2 separate regions of the Homo sapiens genome follow, and region 2 is linked to region 1. The links are contacts of gene promoters, found by promoter capture Hi-C in human tissues and cell types (Jung and others, 2019). All regions are on one chromosome and are shown on one strand. The core of a region is centred on a gene start or on the middle of the fragment in contact, and the rest is flanking DNA. Distances in the headings are between cores, read along the strand shown.

The links. Contacts are between HindIII fragments. The study calls those that stand out against the background at their distance.
Region 2: a contact is called between a fragment that was not itself captured here and the fragment with the promoter of PCDH10 in region 1, in 2 of the 25 tissues and cell types used here (hippocampus and thymus).

Annotation. Positions count from the first base shown.
Region 1 is chr4:133,147,115-133,151,286 of GRCh38, reverse strand. PCDH10 (protocadherin 10) reads right to left here and starts at 1,993. Exons shown (of 5, transcript NM_032961.3): 1 at 1-1,993. The coding sequence starts at 1,146. It overlaps PCDH10-DT (PCDH10 divergent transcript), which reads left to right and starts at 2,171. Exons shown (of 9, transcript NR_125885.1): 1 at 2,171-2,258; 2 at 4,011-4,088. RefSeq lists a silencer at 1,940-2,079 and an enhancer at 2,190-2,249. The HindIII fragment of the contact is 10,822 bases long and covers 1-4,172 here.
Region 2 is chr4:132,809,311-132,813,482 of GRCh38, reverse strand. No RefSeq gene overlaps it. Among named protein-coding and RNA genes, the nearest start is that of LINC01256, 220 kb to the right of the region's middle. RefSeq lists an enhancer at 3,544-4,043. The HindIII fragment of the contact is 5,459 bases long and covers 1-4,172 here.

The DNA.
Region 1 (4,172 bases), core at 744-3,243:
CACGCTGAAAAGGGCCACCACAGTGCCGGGCGCCGCGCCCTCACTCACCGCTTCCTTCACGGTGCTGAAGCTGATCTCTGGCGCGTTGTCATTAGCATCCAGTACTCGCACTAGCACCTTGCAGTGCGCAGGCACGGCGTTGGGGCCCAGGTCCTTGGCTTGCACGTACACTTGGTACACTGGGCTCTCTTCATAGTCCAACTCGCCGCTTACCTCCAGTCTGCCAGTGCGCGGCGAGAGTCCGAAAAGCTCCCGCGCCCGGGGCGAAATGTGGCTGCTGAAGGAGTACACGACCTCACCGTTCTGGCCCTCGTCCGGGTCGGTGGCGTTGAGCTGGATCACGAGAGTGCCTGGGGGAGAGTTCTCTGGTAGGGACACAGTGTAGACGGGTTGGTCGAAAGCGGGCACATTGTCATTGGAGTCCAGCACTCGGATGGTGAGTAGGGCCGTGCCGGTGCGCTGCTGCTGGGGGGGCAGGCCTGCTCCCCCGCCACCTCCCCCTCCTTCTCCTACTCCTCCCCCACCTCCTCCGTCCACCGCGGTCAGCACGTAGCGGTGCACCGCTTGCTGCTCTCGGTCCAGTGGCTTCTCCAGCACCAGCTCAGCGAATCGGTTGCCATCCCCCTGGGTCTGCACGTCCAGGGAGAAGTAGCTGTTGGGGGTGATCTCGTAGTCGCGCAAGGAGTTGGTGCCCACGTCTGGGTCGAATGCGCTCTCCAAGGGGAAGCGAGTGCCTGGCGTGGCGCTCTCAGAGATTTCCACCGTCAGGTCTGGCTCCGGGAAAGAGGGGGGGTTGTCATTAATGTCCAGCACCTCGATCTCCACCTGGAACAGCTCCAGGGGGTTCTCCAGAAAGACCTCCAGGTGCAGGACACAGGAGGGGCTCTGTTTGCAGATTTGTTCGCGGTCTATTTTCTCGTTCACGTACAGCACCCCTGTCTCCAGGTTGAGGTCTAAGTAAGGGGTCCTTGAGTTGGGCACCGTCTGAAACCCGCGAGCCGAAAGTTTTGTAATGTCCAGACCCAGATCTTCAGCGATATTCCCCACGAAAGTGCCATGTTCCTGCTCCTCCTGTACCGTGTAGTGAAGCTGGGAAAAGACTCCTTCCACCATCCAGAGCAAGGCAAACAATAATAGCACAATCATCTCCAAAAGGAAAGGAAGTAGCTTCCCGCAGCCAGTCAGCCACCCAATCACCTCCCCCACCACCACGAAACAAAAAAAAATCTGAAAAAATACAAATAAAAGTGCGCTACGTGGGGGCTCCTGTGGCTTTCTGTCTTTAAAAATCTTACTCCTTTTGCTTCATTTTAGAGCTTCCCGCAATCCAGCCTCATTTTTTTTTAAATCTTAGCACAGGAAGGGTGACAGGCGTCCCCTTTCCTCATCTGTAATCTTTCCACTGACTAATTAATAAAATAACAATAATACAATAGTCAGCGTCCTTTATTCCGACAGTCTTGGCGCTGGCAAATCCCAAAGAGGAAATTTCGATATTTCAAGACTGTCCTCGGTTTGTCTTCTTGCTGATGGGAGGAGAACGAGGAGGAGGAAAAAGAGGAGGAGGAGGAGGAAGAAGAAGAAGAGGAAGAGGAGAAGGAAAAGGAGATGCTGTTGGCACCGTTAAACATGCCTCTTAATGTCAACGGCTGGCAAATGCAAAAGGGCTTAAAATCAGCGATATAATTTTGTGCCGGAAAAGCACAGAACGGCTCTGCAGCTTAAAACTTTCATTCTCTTCATTTCTCCGGATGGATGTTCTTCTTGACATTTTTTTCCTCTTTCGCTCTATTTGTATTTTTTGTCTTTCAGAGTCTTGGTTCCCTCTGTCCTCATCTCCACCGTTACTTGCCTCTCTGTAAGTGTAATGAGCAGTTTCTTTTCTGCTGTTTTCTTCCCAAGCCTCTTTCCCTCTAACCTGTCTCTTTTTCCTTCCAGTCCTTCCTTCCTCCTGCTTCAGCCTCTGAGCCTGTGGTCTGGGCTGGCAGTTTCTGAGCTCCGAGCGCTCGGCTTCTCCGTTTTTGCGCAGCGCCCTCATTCTGCCAACCAATCGCCCAGGAGCACCACCCACCGAGCTGCCGATGATTGGCCAAACTGGCCGCCAAACAGACACGTCACGCGGCAGCCGGGCGGGGCGGGACAGAACTCTCGCCCGAGCGGCCGGGGTGAGTGTGAGTGTGAGAGCGAGAACAGCCCCGCAGGTCCCGAGGCGCTGGCTGGGGACAATGCCGCGGAAAGTTCCCAGTCCCCAGCCGCAGGTAATGGGGAGGGAATAGAGAGGTTCCCCTGTTTGCATCAGCAAATGCGAAAACATAATAGCAACAGCTGCGATATCCTCTCCTAGGAGCGGGATTTCCAATGATGCTAACATTCTTTTTCCTTTAAGGTATTTTCCCTAATACGCATCATGGAAATAAATCATCGAGAAGGGAAAAAGTAGCGCAGGGCCCACTAATTGGCAAGGGTTACCTAATTAAGGGACCCTAGCAGAGACTGGCAGGGCATTTTAAAAGTGAGTATTATATGGCATGTGTCAATCTAAAGGTGAGGGGGTCTGACGGGGCCGTGAGGAAAGGCGCGAAGCATACGGAGTAGGGGGTGGAGGTGACTCCTAAAAAGCGGAGGAATTCACGCTAAAGGATGTGGGGATGACAGCGCTTACAGACGGGCAGACGCGTTCGACGTGCTTCTTTCCTCCCAAAATACATATTCACAAAATACTTACCAAGTAGATTAACTCACTCGAGGACCTAGCTTCGAGCCGTGAGCGCGTTCATCAGTGACTGAGGAGTTGATTTGAGCCGCTTCCTACAAGCCCGCCATCCTAACGCCGGGCTCTGGGGCATCCGGCACACAGCACCGCCAAGCGCTGCAAAGCGCCTCTGATATCCCTGCGCCTTGTGCGGCCAAGTGCCACGCAGCGGCTGGGAACACCGGCTATTTTCTATTTTTTTTTTGGCAATTGGAGATCGATCCCTTTACCCACCATGCTAGATTAGACCACTGATTTCTGCCAATCCTGGGGTCAGCCCGCGGGATGAGGACAGTGGGGCGGCGGCGAACGCGGGCGGGGTGGTGGGCAGGGCCCGTGCACACGAGGGGCCCGAGTGTGCACCGCTGCGGGTATCTGCGAACACGTTTGCACATGCACGGTACTTGCATCCATCCTCCCTGGCCCAGGGCTTAGCTCTGTGTAAGCCCCAACGGAGCCTCCCCGAGTTCCGAAGGACGCGCTTGACCAGCTGTGAGTGCCCCTTCCGGAGGCGCAGGGGCAACGCGGCACATCCACATAGCTAGTTCTTGTGAAGTTAAAACACAGCGCGAACTCTTTAATGCTGGAGAGTGGATAGAATGCCAGTTCTCTAAGGAAAGATCTATAAATATATATTTTTAATTAATGGGCCACTAGCAAGGAATTGGTTGTTTATTCACGAAAGAAGCCCCTATTCAATCTCCTTTTTATGCAAAGAGATAGGAAGGTCCTTTGCTGCTTTCTGGTAATGAATGACCCAAGAATACACCACCACAACCTGCGGGAAAAGTAGAGTCGTTTTCCGACCTGGAGATACGTTGCCATTTCCTCCTGGCAAGGAGTTAAGGAGGGCTAGTGTCCATGGGCGTGATAGTAGCCTGAGACGTGCTTCTGAGAGTCCCGCGAATGCACGTCTACTGCCCTGATTTCCGCGCCCCAACTCCCCGCAACGCCGGGTCCCCCCGGCCCCCGCACTTGGCTCTTTCATGAAGATGGGTCCTGCCTTTGAGCGCTTAGAAGGAAAGGATTCCAGCAAAAATGGCTAATCCTTTTCCAGCTGCAGTAAATTGAAGACTGGCCAAAGCCAAGCGAAAACCGCTGCAGTTAAAATGATTTTAGCATCACGTCTGCGGCTGAGAATGGAGCGGCAGTGTATAAAGGGACCTGTGGATCAATGAAAAGGAGATTATAGTGTATCTGAATATTAATACGGTATTGCATCTGTACTTCCACCCCTCCCCCCTTTCTTTTTCTTCAGATCTGCAGAATTGAAATGAAATGTTTTGAGCTCTTCAAGCTGACTCGTCAGAATCCTGGAGCCTTTTAAAAAATGACGGTAATTTTCTAATGCGTTCATTTGTACGTATGGAAACACTTGTGTGTGTGCGCGCGAGTGCGCGCGTGTTTGCATGTGGGAGAC
Region 2 (4,172 bases), core at 424-2,923, 340 kb after region 1:
TTCATCCCAACAATACCGCTCCTGATGGAAGTATAACAAAGGCATTGCAGGGTCTGACTGCTCTGTCCAATGAGTTAGCCAACAACTCAGTGGTAAATGACCCCTTTACAGAATGGCTAGAAAAGTGGTTCAGTAAGTGGAAAAGGATAATAGCCTCAGTTCTTGCTTCCCTCACAGCTGTAATGGGTGTACTTATTCTTGTCAGGTTCTGTGTCACACTGTGCATCCGTGGGTTGGTGCAGAGGCTCATAAAAACGGCACTTACTAAAACCTCCCTTAACTATCTTCCACCTTAACCAGAGAAGCTGCTTCTTTTGGAAAATCAAGCAGAACAACTAAGCCAAGACATGTTAAAAAGTTTGAAAAGAAAGAGCTGTAAGGCAGTGCAAGAAGAGGGGTTGTTAGATATGAGTTCTAAATTTCTTTTCAAATAATCAATATGTCAGTATGTCCAATTCTTTGCCTACTACTTTTAAACTTAACTTCCTCATAAAGCAACCTTTTTCTACTGCCTGCTCCACCCTGACTCATTCCGATTACCTACTCCACCTGACTCATTCTGATTACCTGCTCTGTCAAAACCATTTTTCCCACCAAACCACTCACCCCATCACTCTCTTTAAATTAGCCAATCAGAATTAGTTTAGCCTGTGCAGTCTAACCCTAGCCAATAGGGGAATGAGACAGCAGCAGGGGCCACTTGTGTCAGGGGTACGAACTCCTTCCCCTCCCTTATCCAAGTGTGCACTCACCATTGCTCCTTCTGTAAGGGTGCACCCTTCTATAGAAGTAACTTGCCTTGCTGAGAATTAAAAAGAAAATTTTATGTTCGAGTGCTATTTCTTTTGAGGCACTGAAACTTTGTTTATAACAAATATATAAGAGATATGGAAGATTGTAGCACATGACAAATAATAAATGTTGGAGAAATTATGACATAAATGATGAGACCTAAAATGCAAAGTGTTACTGATTTTGAAGATAATTATTTTACAAAGATGATATGTTTGTAATTAAAAAAAAATAATGGTTGGGAGCAGTGGCTCACATCTGTAATCCCAGCACTTTGGGAGGCCAAGGCAGGTGAATCACGACATCAGGAGTTCAAGACCAGCTTGGCCAACATGGTGAAACCCCGTCTCTACTAAAAATACAAAAATTAGCTGGACTTGGTGGTGGGTGCCTGTAATCCCAGCTTCTTGGGAGGCTGAGGCAGGAGAATCCCCTGAACCTGGGAGGCGAAGGTTGCAGTGAGCCAAGATCACGCCACTGCACTCCAGCCTGGGTGACAGAGCGAGACTCCATCTCAATATAAAATAATAATAATAACAAAAAACTATAACCTTAAGTTGAATTTTTATAGTAGTTTTTAAATGAAAGGTACTCATTAAGTCTGTGGCAATATTTAAAAAAACAGATATATAGTACTAAAATTCCTGAATTTCAAGAATAAATAAAAATAGTCATATGTATTTACACAGGAAAATGATTATATAAAAATGAAAGAAGATCTCATAACTTTCTTAAGTACTTTAATGGGAGTTACATGACAGTTGAAATAAATTGACATTTGAGACAAAAGTCCTATACCCTCACAAAATTTACCATTAACGTGTTTAAAAGAAAATTTTTTCTTTCTATGGATTTGTCTCTTTCTATAGAATTTTCTGTATCTACTGATATATATATACATACATATATATATCAGATGTTAAATAATAGTTATATTCATATATATACAGGAGTTGTAGTTGAAGAGATAATATATATACACATATATGTGTATATATATCAGAGGTTAAAGAATAGTAATTATACTTATGATTAAAACAAAAGAAATATTTTTATTTCAACATCACTTTGGGTCAGAGACATGATGATGAAATATAATTTATTTGTTTTAATCATACACTCTGGGGTACTATTGATAGTCATCAGACATTCTCATAAGATATTTGATATGTACTAGAAGCTAGTCTTATTGAGTCACAAAAGAATTTAAAATATACACTTTTTAGAGATGAGGACATGTGAGTCCCTCCTTTCCTAACTAAAAGGAGAGAAAGCAGGGATTTGGGGACTTATGTGCAATTGCTGAGAATATGATTCTTTAGGCGTGTAATAAAACAGAAATACTCTGTTTAAGCCAGTGAAGTTATGAACATAAAGATAATGATATAACAGTGTTAATATAACTTCTGTCCCCTCTGGCAATGCTGTTGATTAATGATTGTTTGTAAAATCATTAACAGGTATGCTGAACTGGAAAAAATCCATTATTGTTTTTACATGTACAAAGTAAAAATGAGACCTAGAATAAATGTCTTAAAGTCATGTTTGTAAAAAATAAGGCATAATAAAACCACAGCTTTTTAATGACATGTTTTAGTGGAATTTTTTTCTACTTCTATATTTTTGTCTACCATGAAGGGTTTATTGATGTTCTGTTTGAGGTTATAACTCAATTCAACCAAATAAGGTCAGGGTCTCTGTTCAATTTCTGTACACTAATTAGTTAATGAGCATCACTTGCATTGTTAGAAGCTTTCTTTAAAAGTACCATGCTTGAAGAGACCGGAGGCAAAATTCTCCCATTAGATATCCATCTGTAACCATCACTAATTTGAATTGAAGTTTCTACATAAATAGCCTGGGGTAGAATTTAGATCTAGAAAACAAGATCTGGGAAAAGTCAGTAAATGTTTTATTTTTCTAATTCATTACTTTTGTAATTAATTTAACAATATCTACTTACAACATGTTTTCCAAAATGTTAATTGATTATTACAAAAGATAAATAATCTTACATTTTTGTTTTTGGATTATTCTCATATGTTTAGAAATAAACTTTACCTAAAGTGAATTGAAGAGTGAAAAAGAAGATGTTAAATGTACTTAATGGTTTCAAAATTGTAGTAATAAAGTCTTTCTTGTGATACACTGAAAGCAATTTCACACACATTGACTCCGATTCAGGATATGACAAGTACCTTTCTATATAAAGCGTTAAGCCACATAAGGGATTGAAATCAACTTGTTCAGATCCCTGGGGCACTTAACTGACCTAACTGATAATTAAAGATTGAGTAGGTTTTAGTTGAAAACAATAACTAATGTTATAAAATCAGAGGACTGCTGCTGCATTTTGCTTCTGTCGCATGTAAAATTAGCATTTTTCTCTATAATATTTTTAACTGGAATTGTGGCATGTATTATTCTTTGATCATTCCATTGTTAATATTTTTTGTGTTGTTTTACCTGAGGTTTATTGAGGGGTATAAGGATAAGAAATTTAGAAAAAGTACACGCGGTGAAGCTGTTACATTTCAGTATGGTATGTGCCCTTACACCATAATTTGGATAGTATTATTCAATTATCTTTTATTATGTTTTTATTAAGAAACATAAAATAATGGTGATGTTATTATTATTTTGCTTTGGAAACAGTAATATTAGATAGAGATACTTGGATGCGTTTCCAAATATGGGAGTCAATCCTTATCTTTTTGCAATACATTTTAAGCCAAACTGAAGTGGGAAAAGTTCCCTTATCCCCCTCACAGGGCTTGTGACAGGGACGTGAAATGACTGGCTTATTTGGTGCCCTGCTACTCAAACCCCTAGGGGGAGCATGCAGAGGAGCAGGTCATGGGGCTCCGACCCCGTGTCAGCCTCTAGGGTTGAGTGTTTGCAGCTTCAGAAGCCCCAGTGGGCATGTGTTACAGTGTGCTCTTTCTGTTTTGCTGTCTGCAGGCAGCTTGTGTTAATCAGCTCAATTAGACCCTCTGCCTTATCCCAAGGACAGAGGGCTTTCTGTATCCCGGGTTCTTGCTGTGGTGTACCAGAAAAATCAGATCACACGTGGGCTTGGAGGATGGGTGCAAGGTTTTATTGAGCGGAGGTAGCTTTCAGTGAGGTGGATGGGGAGGCCAGAAGGGGGATGGAGTGAGGAGGTGATCTTCCCCTGGAGTCGGGCCCCCCAGCATCCGGACTCTCCTCCAACTGAATTCCCCTTGGCATCCGTGACATTCCGCTGTGGATGGCCTGCCTGTGTCTGTCGGTGTGCTCTTCTGCTGGTGTGTTCCTCTAGACGTCCAGACGCTTGTGTGTGTGTCTGCTTAAGGTCTCGGGTTTAGATGGGCACGAGATGGTGGGTGTGGTGGGCCAGAAGG